Regions from separate parts of the Homo sapiens genome. Here region 2 is linked to region 1. The links are contacts of gene promoters, found by promoter capture Hi-C in blood cells and fetal thymus (Javierre and others, 2016). All regions are on one chromosome and are shown on one strand. The core of a region is centred on a gene start or on the middle of the fragment in contact, and the rest is flanking DNA. Distances in the headings are between cores, read along the strand shown. Region 1 holds the start of SLC43A3 (solute carrier family 43 member 3). Region 2 overlaps SLC43A1 (solute carrier family 43 member 1).

Region 1 (6,446 bases), core at 3,578-6,077:
GCCTGTAATCCTAGCACTTTGTGGGGCCAAGGCAGGCAGAACACTTGAGCCCAGGAGTTTGAGACCAGTCTGGCCAACATGGCGAAACCCCATCTCTACAAAAAATGCAAAAAAATTAGCTGGGCATGGTGGTGCACGCCTGTAATCCCAGCTACTCGGGAGGCTGAGGCAGGAGAATCACTTGAACCTGGGAAGTGGAGGCTGCAGTGAACTGAGATCACACCATTTCACTCCAGCCTTGGTGACAGAGTGAGATGCTGTCTCAAAAAAAAAAAAAAAAAAAAAAAAAAAAGCATTAGTTTCAGTCAGAGCATCAGGTTTCTATCCCAGTCCTGACACTGCTACCTGGTGATGTTGGGGGAGTTGCTTCGTCCCTCTAGGCCTCAGTTGGCCCAGATAATAGATGCTAATAACAACACCTATCGTGAGATTCAGTGACAGATTAAGCAAAAAGCGCTTCGAATCAGATACATAGTCAGTGCTCAGTGCCCAGCAGGTATTATTGATATTCCTTATTTTTCTTCTCAGGGGTAGGACGTGCCTCCATGTTGACACAGTGTTCCCCAGCCTAGTCCTTAGAGTTGCAGGTTTAGATATTGTCAGTGCACTGAGGCATTCCTTTCTAGCAAAGTCTATCGGGAAGTGCAGTTACCAGTAAACAGTTGCTTGATGAACATAGAAGTGGAGCTGGGGCTTGGGAGGGTGGGTAGCAGTAGCCTCATAAGCCCTGGTGTGGTGGGGCTTGGGGCTCTGCTTTCTCTTAGGCCTGGCCCAGTGCTTCCAGTATCTGGTCTGGTGGGGGAGCTCTGTTTTCTGCATGGTGAAAGGGAGGCTGATCCAGGCTGATCCTCTGCTGCCTCTAGCATCCACTGAAGCTGAGCTGGCTGCTCTGAGGGGCCAGAGTGGCCCCCACCCTCCAGTGCCTCTTTGGGTATCCTTTCAGATTCACCTCTGTTAAAGAGAAAGGTCTCCCCAGAGCAAGGAGGCCTCATATTTACTTGGCTATGTAGTAGTTCCCCACCCTCCTGAGAACTGCTTTGAACACACTAGGAGATACCCTGAAGAGCCAGCTCTAAGACTCCATCCCCTTCCTGTCTACTGTGGCTCATGAACAGACTTCCCACAGCTTACAGGACAATCCAAGCCCCTGCCTTAAGCCCAGACAGTCTTGGGGGGTTGTACTGAGTGCATTTGGGTGTCATCTAGAGATCAGTTCTCTAGGGTGGGACTTCTTAAGCAAGGTAAACTGAGCTCACCCATTACTTAGTGGTTTTCCCCCTAATTTATTTCTTTTTTAGGTTAGGAACACTTTGAAATTCTCCCTAAATGTGACTTTATTTCCTCTTTGTTTTCCAGTAAGTCAATAATATTTGTTAACAACAGTAGCTGCTATTTATTAATAGTGTACTAATTGGGCAGTTTTCATACATTATCTTTAATCCATACAGCTCGATTCCAATTTTATAGATGAGGAGACGGAAGCTCAGAGATACCAGTAATTGGCTCGATAGCAGTGTGCTTGTATTATTTTTGGCACTGCCTCAAGAGGATTAGAATTTTCTCTGCAGGTGAAATGATGTTTGCATTTACCTTTTGCTTTCTGACTTCCAAAACAGGCTGTAGAAACCCCTTTCAAGACCGTAGGTGGAAAACCAAACATTTTAATTTACATGAGCCCATTGTGAAAGGAAAGCTTATGTTTGTTTGTTTATGTGTTTGGCGTATCCGAAATCAAAGCCCTTTATGTGAATGGCTCAGAGTTTATCTACATATACAAATTTAGAAAGTGATGTCAGAGGGTAGGAGAGAATATCTGGACTCTGCCCAGAGAGTGGCAATTGCCCTCGCTGAGGTTGTTCAGAGGAAGTTTGAGGAGAGAGGTCTGTGGACAGGCAGGGACTGCATTGGAAGGTGGTGCTCTTGAGGACTAGAGGATACTAGCCATTGTTTGTGCCAGGGGAATGATGGAGTGCAGCTCACTTATACTGCCCTCTTTGGCAAACCCTCTTTCCCTAACCTAAACATATCCATCTTCCCACTCTGTCCATAAAAACATCCATAGGGTGGATCCTGGATATCCAGACTTGCTGATGATGGGAAGGAAAACCACCTCCAGCATTGGTACTTGGGCAGTAGGATGCAGGAGATCCAGTTCTATGCTCCCTCTTCCCCTCAAAGCAATGTCTCATGGCTGGCATCCCCAGACCCTGGACTGGTCCTTACCAGCCAGTTGACTGGACCTCAGAAGGGTTTTGAGCAGTTAAGTGAAGCCATCCAGTGGGAACCATGGAAATAAACTCTTGCAGGAGAATGGCGATGGCTTGGAAGCAGATGATGCCTCTGTGAGAGATGATGAGTGTCTGCATAGAGCAGTGGCCACGGATAGATAGGAGAGATATTAAGGGGTGAAATCAATAGGACATGATTGATTGATGTGGGCTGAATTCTTAATGCCCTCACTTAGATGGCGACGCTGGCCTCAAATCTTTCCACTTTCTTCACCACCCTGTGCTCTAGCTGGTTCCTAAATGTTATTGTTTTGTTGAGGTTCCGTGCCTTTCAATGTGCTGTGCTAGCATCTGCCTGGAAGACCATTCCCACACTCCAGAAATCTTGGGTTTCTTTGTCTGTCTCTCCCACAAGAGAATGAGCCCCTTGAGAGCAGGCACTGAATCTCTTCTCTACGAATCCCGGCACTTGGCACAGAGCCTGAGGTACCACATGTATTTGTTGAACCAATCAGTCAATTAAAAAAAAAAAGGTGTGAGATGATGAGGAAGGAGGCGAAGAGAAAAGGATGAAGACATCGGGTGCACCGTCAGACCTTATTATAATCACTTCTCTCTCTGATGTTACTCATTAATCCTCATTGGAGCCACGCAGGAGAGTGATCAGAATAGCATCTGCCTTTTCTAGCTGCTGGAATTCGAACCAAAGAACATGGGAATGGTTCAGAGGATATTCTAATTTCCTGTCCCATCAGTTCAGTAAGACTTGTGTTAGTGGAGGCCACGTCTTCTGCAGACATTGATGGGAGATGTGGAGTGGAGGCTCTAAGAGTCAAGAGAGGTAACAAGATAAGGTGGACAGAACCCTGGACGACCTGCCCCGTGTCCCGTGCTTCAGTCCTGGATGTACAGATAGCCCATGAGCTAGATCTTTCTGGCAGGCTCCTGCAGATTAACATTCTAAAATCTGTCTCTTTACTTTGACTTTTTTCTGTTTCTCCCTTGCTACTTCCACACTTACTGATCCCCCCAGGAGACTAAAATGTATGCCAGAGCAGAAGATAGGGCATGCATTAATTTCAGAGTCTTTGTGTCTTGCAGTAAAATAGAAAATCTTGCATCTTAAGCCCTGTTTGTCCTGGGATGCTATATTTTTGTGGATTTTCTCCCATAAATAATGTTATTTTAAGAAAAGACTTGTTTTCTCTAATGTCCAAATGTTTGTTAAGACGGGGTGATGAGAGCATACGTTTCAGAGTTGGGAAGGTACTGCAGCTTTGTAGAATGACCGTGGGCAAGTTCCTTTGAAATTCCTCCCCAGAGCTGCTTCTCTGGCTCTGTCTACATAACTGCAGACTAGAAAATCTACTACCCTACAATCTGCCTATAGCACCTGCGCCATGCAGGGACCTCATACACCCATCTTATACTTCTTTTATGACAATTCCTATAATTAAGGTACTATTGTCCTCGTCTTACAGGTGGGGCAGCCAAAGAGCTTGCCTCAGGTTGTATAACTAGTGAGTAGCTTGGGGTACAGGACCCCAGCCACCCTTCCTCCATTCAGTCAAGTCACTAGGGTGGTTGCAGACTTTTATCTTTTGTGCTTTGGTGGTGAGCTGGAAAATCCTCAGTTCTGGCTGTCCCCTATCGTAACCTCTATTTCTTCCTCTTAAAAAAAAGAGGAGTGGGCTTGGAATAGCTGGAGTTCCTGGGCCCTCAGGGGATCCAGGTAGCTGGGGTTGGGAGTCTGCAGACTGCATCTAATACGCAAGAAGCTCTCCCCAAACTGAGCTTTTGGCAAGGAAACGGCCACACAGGCCAAAGAAGACGTCAGCTCACGTGCTCTGGGCTGGAAGGATAGTAAGGCAGCTGCTTAGTAAGGCCTCACGCTGATCACAAGCTCCGATGAGCAATTATATATGTCTTTGATTAATAAAAAATGGGGCAATGAATGGTTAATCAATGCAGTCTGGCGGGAAGGCTCTTTCAGAACCTGGGGGGCGGGGGTGAGGCAGGGAGTCATCTAAGGGGTTTTTGGGAGTGAAAATATGGGGCAGTCCTCCAGGGGATGGTTTCTGAAAAGCCCTCAGTCCTGGTTCTTGGCTTCCTGATTCTGTGGTTGGGATTTTTTTGGCAGCTCTGGGAGTGTGAAACTGGGAGAGACGGTTAAGCTGGTGAGCAAATAGGAAAAATATGTTCCCTGCCAACCCAGCGGTCAAGGCAAAATGCACAAATAGAGTGTGTGTGTCCCTATGCCCTCATGTGCTGTCTGTGTGTCCTCTGGGTGCTGGGTGTGACATTTTCCCTAGGTGGGCCTGAGCGAGTAACAGCATTCAACTAACTTGGTTAGGGGAGGCAGAGGCAAGGGGGCTGGGAGGCTGAAAGGCAGCGAGGAGGGAGGGAAAGACACCGCTGGGGTTCTAGGGGGTTCTAGAGGGAGAAGTTTCAAGAGGGAGAGGTAAAAAGGGCGCGGGAGGCTGTGAGCAAGGGAAAAGAAGAAGGAAGTGATGGAGAGTGGGAGGTCTGCCCCAGCCCCTTCCGGGCGGGCAGGAGGGGGCGGAGGCGAGCAGGGGACTGGGAGGGGCTGCGAGAGGCGCGAATGCGAACCTGGCCCGTGCGGAAAGGGCGCGGAGAGCCCCGGCGCGGAGCAGGCGGGTAGGGCGAAGGGTCCCCTTTCGGGCGCCATGGGGCGCCGAGCGCGGCCTGGCCCCTCGGGCTCCTCTGCGGGGAGGGCAGGCCGCAGGCTGGAGCGGGGTGCGGAGGCTGGCGGGGAGCGGCCCCCGGAGGCTTTCCTGGTAGAAGTTGATGCGAGGAAGGGCGGCGGGGACCAGGTTTGCGAGTCCTAGGCGAGGGTCATGGGAGTTGGGGGTATTTCTGGCAGTAGAATGGCCTGCGTCGTGACTAAACTAGCCCTGTGACCTTGGGCAAGTTCCTGAAATCCATGGGAGCTTTTGTTTCATTGTCAGTAAACTGAAGATAACACCAACTTGGCAGCGGGAGTTTGTGTCTTCTGTATGAAATCTCCCTGCCTCTGCACCTGGTTGAGTTGCTGTCATTATTTTAGGGGACGGTATTCAGAATTCGAGCGCAGGAGCTCCGCTTCTCCACCTGCTCCCGGGGAGCTATTGGGTAAGTCGTTTATCTCACCTGTGACTCCAGGTGGCCATCAAGACCTGCCTCTCTACTTGCCACGTGGTTACTCAAATGCAGTGCCTAAGATGATGTATTGGAGTATTTATTCCCCACATTTGCTGCCAGCGGCCATGATCATCCTGCCTCTTAATGCACCTCACAAATAACTCTAGTCTACCTTTCCCTTTCCCGCAGGCCTCCTCTTCCAGCAGCCTCTATCTTTATTCTACAGGATCCAGAGAATCACCCGCTGATGGTTTTTGCCCAGGCCTGAAACAACCAGAGAGCTACGGGAAAGGAAGGGCTTGGCTTGCCAGAGGAATTTTCCAAGTGCTCAAACGCCAGGCTTACGGCGCCTGTGATCCGTCCAGGAGGACAAAGTGGGATTTGAAGATCCACTCCACTTCTGCTCATGGCGGGCCAGGGCCTGCCCCTGCACGTGGCCACACTGCTGACTGGGCTGCTGGAATGCCTGGGCTTTGCTGGCGTCCTCTTTGGCTGGCCTTCACTAGTGTTTGTCTTCAAGAATGAAGATTACTTTAAGGATCTGTGTGGACCAGATGCTGGGCCGATTGGCAATGCCACAGGGCAGGCTGGTAAGGGCAGGGATGACTTTTCTAAGGAAGTTAAGTCTGGCTCCCACGTGGTGGCAAGGAGCAGGAAGGACTCTGCCCCCTGCCCACCCCTCTTTCTATGATGAGAGGAAGGGTCAGCAGCTCTCACCCCACTTGATCTGGGAAGTGCCTGGGAGGGAGGCACCAGCTCCTGAGGGGTAATTAGGGGCAGCCACATTTCAACTCAGCTTAAGGGACAAGTTTGCGACCGACAAGCTGTCTGAGGTGGAGGGGAGCCCAGCCTGTGTGCTCATTTGGCAGGAAGGCTGGGATGCATGGGAGACCTTTTTTCTACTCCAGACTGCAAAGCCCAGGATGAGAGGTTCTCACTCATCTTCACCCTGGGGTCCTTCATGAACAACTTCATGACATTCCCCACTGGCTACATCTTTGACCGGTTCAAGACCACCGTGGCACGCCTCATAGCCATGTAAGTCCCAAAGGCCAGCCCAGGCAAAGGTGGGTAAGA
Region 2 (6,304 bases), core at 3,767-6,266, 56 kb before region 1:
GCAGCTCTCTTTCCTTCATCTGCTCAAGCCAGAACCCTGGAGTTTCCTTGATGTTTCTCTCCCTCACACTCCATGTTCACTCCGTCCTCAGTACAGCCAGCAGCAGCTTCTACACACCCCAAATCTGACCCTTCTTGTCACCTCCACTGCTGCCTCTCCAGTCCTAGCCACCAACATCTCTAGCCTGGATTATTGTGGCAGCCTTTAGTCTCCCACATCTGCCCTGGCCCCGCTGTCTCAGTCTATTTTTAACACAGGGGCTGCAGTCACCTGTCAGGACATAAGTCTCTTCACATCACTCTGTGGTGTCCTGTCTCATCTGTCTCAGAGTAAAAGCCAAAGGCTTTACTATGGCCTAAAAAGCCCTGCAAGCTCTGGCCCCAGCACTTCACTCCCCTCTAGCTCCCCCTCCTCCATTGTTCACTCTGCCACAGCCACAGTGCTTCCTAGTGCTCCGGAAGTCTCAAGTGTGTTCCCTGCTTGGCATCTTTGCATGTACTAGTCCCTGTTTCTAGAACATTCTTCTCCAGATATCTGCAAGGTGCCCAATCTTACCTTCTCTCCTTCTTCAGGTCTTTCCCTGACTGTCCTCTTCTCAGTGAGGCCTCCCTTGGCTGTCCCATGTACAATTGCAACCTCCCTACTGCCCGCTTCTCTGCTTGGTTTTTCTCAGCGTTTATCACTAACACTCTGCCTATCTCTTGCTTATTGTCTGACCGCCACCTGCTCCATGGGAATGCCACCTCCTCGATGGCAGGAATCTGTTGACTTGCTTGATCGTGGTATCTCCAGCACCTAGAGCAGTGCCTGGCACATAGTAGGTTCTCAGCTAAATGTTTGTTGACAGAATACAGTGGACAGTCCTGCGAGGTCAATGCCATCCCTGTTATTAGTGGAGGAAGTGGGGCTCAGGGAGTTTGAGCCACTTGCCAATATCACACATACAGGAGGTGTGAGAACCCAGCTCAGTGGCCCTGAAGTTGGAGCATTTGCCCTCAAGGCTGGGGACCAAAGAGCCCATGCAAAGAGCCCGAACGCTTAAGCACCACCCTGCCTGGCCAGCGGGGACCATGGTGGGGAGGGGATAGGAGAGGTGCTGGCCTGGGCTGGAGAGGGCCACACACCCCTGATACTCCCCGTCTCGTGGACAGGTTCCCATCCAACCACTTTGGGACGCTGACAGGCCTGCAGTCCCTCATCAGTGCTGTGTTCGCCTTGCTTCAGCAGCCACTTTTCATGGCGATGGTGGGACCCCTGAAAGGAGAGCCCTTCTGGGTGAGAGCGAGGGTTGGTGTGGGGGGAGCAGGAGCCACTCTCCTGGGGGCAGGGGTAGGGCCTTGTATGTGGTGCCATCCCTCACTCATCTCAGCCAGAGGCACCTCAGAGGTCTCTAATCTGCAGGTTTCCAAGTTGTCTGCCTTTTAGAACCCCTCACGGAGTGTTAAAAATACAGATTCCCCAGTCCCCTGAATCAGGATATCTCAGCCTGACTGTAGGAGTCTGTTTTTGTTTTTAATTTATTGTTATTTTATTTATTTATTTATTTTTATTTTTATTTTTTGAGACGGAGTCTCATTCTGTTGCCCAGGCTGGAGTGCAGTGGTGCGATCTCGGCTCACTGCAAGCTCCGCCTCCCGGGTTCATGCCATTCTCCTGCCTCAGCCTCTCAAGTAGCTGGGACCACAGGCGCCCACCACCACGCCCAGCTAATTTTTTTTTTTTTTTTGGATTTTTAGTAGAGACGGGGTTTCACCATGCTAGCCAGGATGGCCTCGATCTCCCGACCTCGTGATCTGCCCTCCTCAGCCTCCCAAAGTGCTGGGATTACATGCCTTAGCCACCGCGCCCGGCCCTATTGTTTTTTTTTTTTTGTAGAGAAGGTGTCTTGTTCTGTTGCCCAGTCTGGAGTGCAGTGGTAAAATCACAGCTCACTGCAGCCTCTGATTCCTGGGCTCAAGCGATCCTCCGGCCCCAGCCTTCTGAGTAGCTGCAACCACAGGTGATGGCTACCATACCTGGCTAATTTTTTAAAAAAAAATTTTGTACAGATAAACAGGGTCTTGCCATGTTGCACAGGCTAGTCTTAAACTCCTGGCCTCAAATGATCTTCTCACCTTGGCCTCCCAGAGTGCTGGGGTTACAGGCGTGAGCCACAGTGCCTGACCTCCTAGGAGTCTGTTTTTAGTAAACTCCAGGTGCTTTGTGAAGTGGCCAGTCCTGACTCTTGGGCCTGTGTTCAGGCACCATTGGTCCAATCCAGTTCTACCTAGTGTGGGATCCTGTCTCCAGCACCCCTGAAAGGGGACCCTTCCCTCTTAGCTTAGATACCCTCAGTGGTAGGGCACCCACTCCTGCACGAGGCAGCCCTGCTGCTGTTAGTAAGTCTTTTCCTTACATTGAACTCATCTGCCTCCCTGACGCTGATCTTTCATCTGCCCTGTGGGGCCACCCACACGTAAACCCTCCTCCCAAAGAATTGTGATGAAATAACTGCTTCTATTTACCAAGCACTCACTATGTGCTAAGCATGATGCATACTTTTTTTTAACTTACATCTTCGCCACAACAGCCCTGAGAAGGAGGCACTCAGTAAGAATTGCCATTATTTGCCCAAAGTCACACAGTGAGTAATGCAGAGTGGGATGTGAACCGAGTCAGAGCCCGCGTGTCCTGGGCCTTCCAAGCCTTCTGTCCACCAGGCTGTGCATCCCAGTTCCTTGAACTGTGTCTGAGAGCCTCCTCTCGCCACCCTGAACGGGATCCCATTGGTTAACATCTCCAAAGGTCAGAGGGGTGAGCCCAGAAGGCCCCATTTCGGGAGCAGCCTGACCAGCCCAGACTCCTACAGTGCTGTGCCTTCCTCATACCTACCTAGTGAGTGCCATATGGTGTGGGCACCCACCAGGCCCTGCCACTTGTTATACCTGAGAAGTCTCATCTCAGCCACTTTGCAGAATTGCTGAACATTAAGTGAGATACTGGTGGAACAATGACTACACATAATAAGTACTAGCTGTATTTATTCTGGCTCAGGACCTGGAGAAAAATGGCCGCCTTCTCCTCCCTGTGGGAGGCTAAGGGCAGATGACTACCTACTTGACTCTGTTTCTCTCTCCTTGCCCTAAAGGTGAATCTGGGCCTCCTGCTATTCTCACTCCTGGGATTCCTGTTGCCTTCCTACCTCTTCTATTACCGTGCCCGGCTCCAGCAGGAGTACGCCGCCAATGGGATGGGCCCACTGAAGGTGCTTAGCGGCTCTGAGGTGACCGCATAGACTTCTCAGACCAAGGGACCTGGATGACAGGCAATCAAGGCCTGAGCAACCAAAAGGAGTGCCCCATATGGCTTTTCTACCTGTAACATGCACATAGAGCCATGGCCGTAGATTTATAAATACCAAGAGAAGTTCTATTTTTGTAAAGACTGCAAAAAGGAGGAAAAAAAACCTTCAAAAACGCCCCCTAAGTCAACGCTCCATTGACTGAAGACAGTCCCTATCCTAGAGGGGTTGAGCCTTCTTCCTCCTTGGGTTGGAGGAGACCAGGGTGCCTCTTATCTCCTTCTAGCGGTCTGCCTCCTGGTACCTCTTGGGGGGATCGGCAAACAGGCTACCCCTGAGGTCCCATGTGCCATGAGTGTGCACACATGCATGTGTCTGTGTATGTGTGAATGTGAGAGAGACACAGCCCTCCTTTCAGAAGGAAAGGGGCCTGAGGTGCCAGCTGTGTCCTGGGTTAGGGGTTGGGGGTCGGCCCCTTCCAGGGCCAGGAGGGCAGGTTCCCTCTCTGGTGCTGCTGCTTGCAAGTCTTAGAGGAAATAAAAAGGGAAGTGAGAGACTGGCTGGTGTGCGCCTGTCTTTGGCGGTTGGTGGGGGGTGTCTTCCCACACCCCCATCCTTCTTCACCCAGGCTCAGCTGGGCATTAACTAGGACGCTTGGCATGCCAGCCCGTTCGCCTCTGGCTGTCTGGCTCACCTCCCTGTTCCCAACCATGCCCTGCCCTTAGTGCTTGGAGGGAGTCCAGCTCCTGCCCCCTACTTCCCAGGATTTGGGGTACATCCAGGAAGCTGGCTTTTCTCCATACAGAGGATTAGGACAGAATGCTTTAGAAAGAATGCTAAGGTATGACTCAAACTTCCCACCATAGCATCCCTAGGGCCTGCCGAAAGTAACACTTTTTTGGAGTCTCCTATTTTATCTTAAAACTTTATGCAAATTTTGAGCTTCCTTGTTATACTATATTTACATTTACCTTTAACATTAAAGTGAGGCTTTAAAGTAAATAAATAAATAACGTGAAGCTTTAAAATTATCTATATCAAGAGAAGACACCATCAGTGAGGACAAGAGATCCTGCAGAAAGACATACCTTATTTATCCAGCCCTGCACCTGCTTGTGCCTCTGGGACATAAGCCCTGGAGGTTAGAGCAAGTCCCCAAATGAAGGGAAAACTAACATTGGTTTAGGATCTGTCTGTTCTACACAGCTATCTCATTTTATCCAAACTATAGCCTAAGAGGTTGGTGTTGTCATTCTTTCTTGTCGCTGTAGGAAACAAGCCCAGAGAGGTTAAGGCACACACCCAAGGGCACACAGTGTTAGGTGGTGGAGCTCAATTTGGAACCTCGGCAGTCTGTGGAAAGGATAGCTCTGCAGAAAGGAGGTCCCAAGCTTCTTTCCGGTTCTCAGCTGCTCCTGGGGCCAAGAGTGACCTCAGAGGCCTTGGCCATCTCCCCCACCTCCAAAGGTTGGCTCTGTAAGACAGCATTCCAGCTAAGCCATTTTCCCTCCCTTTGTCTTTGTTTCTCTTGAGAAGTTAATAAGAGAGACTGTCCCCTCCGTTTTCAGATAGGAAAACCTGTCCTCAGGGGTCTGGAGACTTGGCAAAGTCACATCGCAGATCCCTGCTGCTCTGAGCCCAGACTCCCGACTTCCAACACTGACTTTTTTTGTTTTTGTAAAGTACAAAATCAGAATTGGCTAGCACCCACCAGCGGGTTCGGCTGGCTTTCAGTAGGCTTGCCGGGGTCTCTGCACTCTGTGTCCGGGATCCTCAATTTGCGAATAGTCTGGGGAGGCTGAGCGCGAGCCAGGAGCGGACCCGGGGGTGGGGGTAAGCGCCACGTGCGCGCCAGGTCCTTGGTGTGCCCGGCAGGCGGCGCTGCGTGGCTGCGGCTGGCTCCGAGGGTGCGGGGGGCGGCGACCCGGGAGGGAAAACCCCTGCCTCTTCCCGGGGCTTGCTCTGCCCGTCCTTTAAACTCGCCCTACACCCTCCCCGACTCCCGTCCTTGCAAGCGTTATCTGCAGCCTCACCGGCCCTCGCAACGGTGGTGGTGGTTGGTGGGGGGTCTCGAAGCTTGCCTCTGGCCAGCCGGACCCCGGTGGGAGATGGAGGCAGAAATTCCGGCCTCCTAGGAGAAGGGCGTCTGCTCACTCCCCCACTCCCCGGGGCTTGGGGAGGGGGCTGGGCAGGGGCGGAAGCGAGCTGGAGCCGTGTTTGTCGCGGCGCTGCGGAGTGGAACAGATGGCTGGGGAGGGGAGAGGGTGCGTGGCGGGGAGGAGGAGGGGTGCGGGGGCCGGAGGATAGGGAACGAGGAATTTCGAAGCCTGGAGTCTCCCAGGAGAAGCCCCCCTCCCCGTCTTTTCCCAGAAAGGGGGGCATATATGCGCCTGCCTTTTTCCCGGAGAGCCCTGGCCTCTGCCCTGTGGCAGACCCTGCCGCGCAATCCTCTGCCCCAGGGCGCGCCCCTCACCCCCAAACCCCCGCCGCGGGACGGGGTGGCGGGGTCAGGACCGCCAGGAGCGGCCCGGGTCGCGAGGGTTAATGGGGCCGCCCTCCCAGGGGCGAGGAGGCGGCGGGAAACGGGCTCGGGGTGGGGAACGAGTTCTGGGATCGCAAATAGCAAAGGAAAAACATGTTAATTGGAGCTTTATGCAGATGAGCTAGGACTGGGGACTGTGGGGTAGAAGGAGGGACAAGGTCGGACCTCGAGGAGCGTTGGTGGGCTCTGGCCGGGGGAGTGATGGACGCCTATCCAGGTATCTGCGTGTTGAGCCTCCCGGGAAGGCCGCTGGTGCCCGGGGATGAGAGGCTTCCTCTCTGACCCACCCCCCAGAAACAAGGTTGGGGGCTCTCCAGGGTCTCCACGTCCTCGGTCTCAGATTGCCACGAAGAGAGGGCGGGGTGCACCCTGCAAGTGTCTGCTTCGGTTTCTGGCTGCTGACCTGTCTCACCTTGGCTGTGGCCCCCTCCTCCCCGGTCTGGCTTGGTCTCCACTCACTTTGCCTCCTCTATCTGTTACTC

The links. Contacts are between HindIII fragments. The CHiCAGO score rates a contact against its expected background, and 5 or more counts as called.
Region 2: a fragment that was not itself captured here is called in contact with the fragment with the promoter of SLC43A3 in region 1 in 6 of 17 cell types (erythroblasts, monocytes, activated CD4 T cells and 3 more); the score reaches 13.1 in erythroblasts.

Annotation. Positions count from the first base shown.
Region 1 is chr11:57,425,502-57,431,947 of GRCh38, reverse strand. It overlaps SLC43A3 (solute carrier family 43 member 3), which reads left to right and starts at 4,827. Exons shown (of 14, transcript NM_199329.3): 1 at 4,827-4,886; 2 at 5,296-5,360; 3 at 5,596-5,959; 4 at 6,278-6,407. The coding sequence starts at 5,776. RefSeq lists a silencer at 4,708-5,067 and enhancers at 5,310-6,102, 5,211-6,410, 6,103-6,446. The HindIII fragment of the contact is 9,438 bases long and covers 1,696-6,446 here.
Region 2 is chr11:57,482,066-57,488,369 of GRCh38, reverse strand. SLC43A1 (solute carrier family 43 member 1) reads left to right here. Exons shown (of 15, transcript NM_003627.6): 14 at 1,152-1,275; 15 at 3,128-3,836. The coding sequence ends at 3,274. Among named protein-coding and RNA genes, the nearest start is that of RTN4RL2, 25 kb to the right of the region's middle. RefSeq lists a silencer at 5,026-5,355. The HindIII fragment of the contact is 685 bases long and covers 4,674-5,358 here.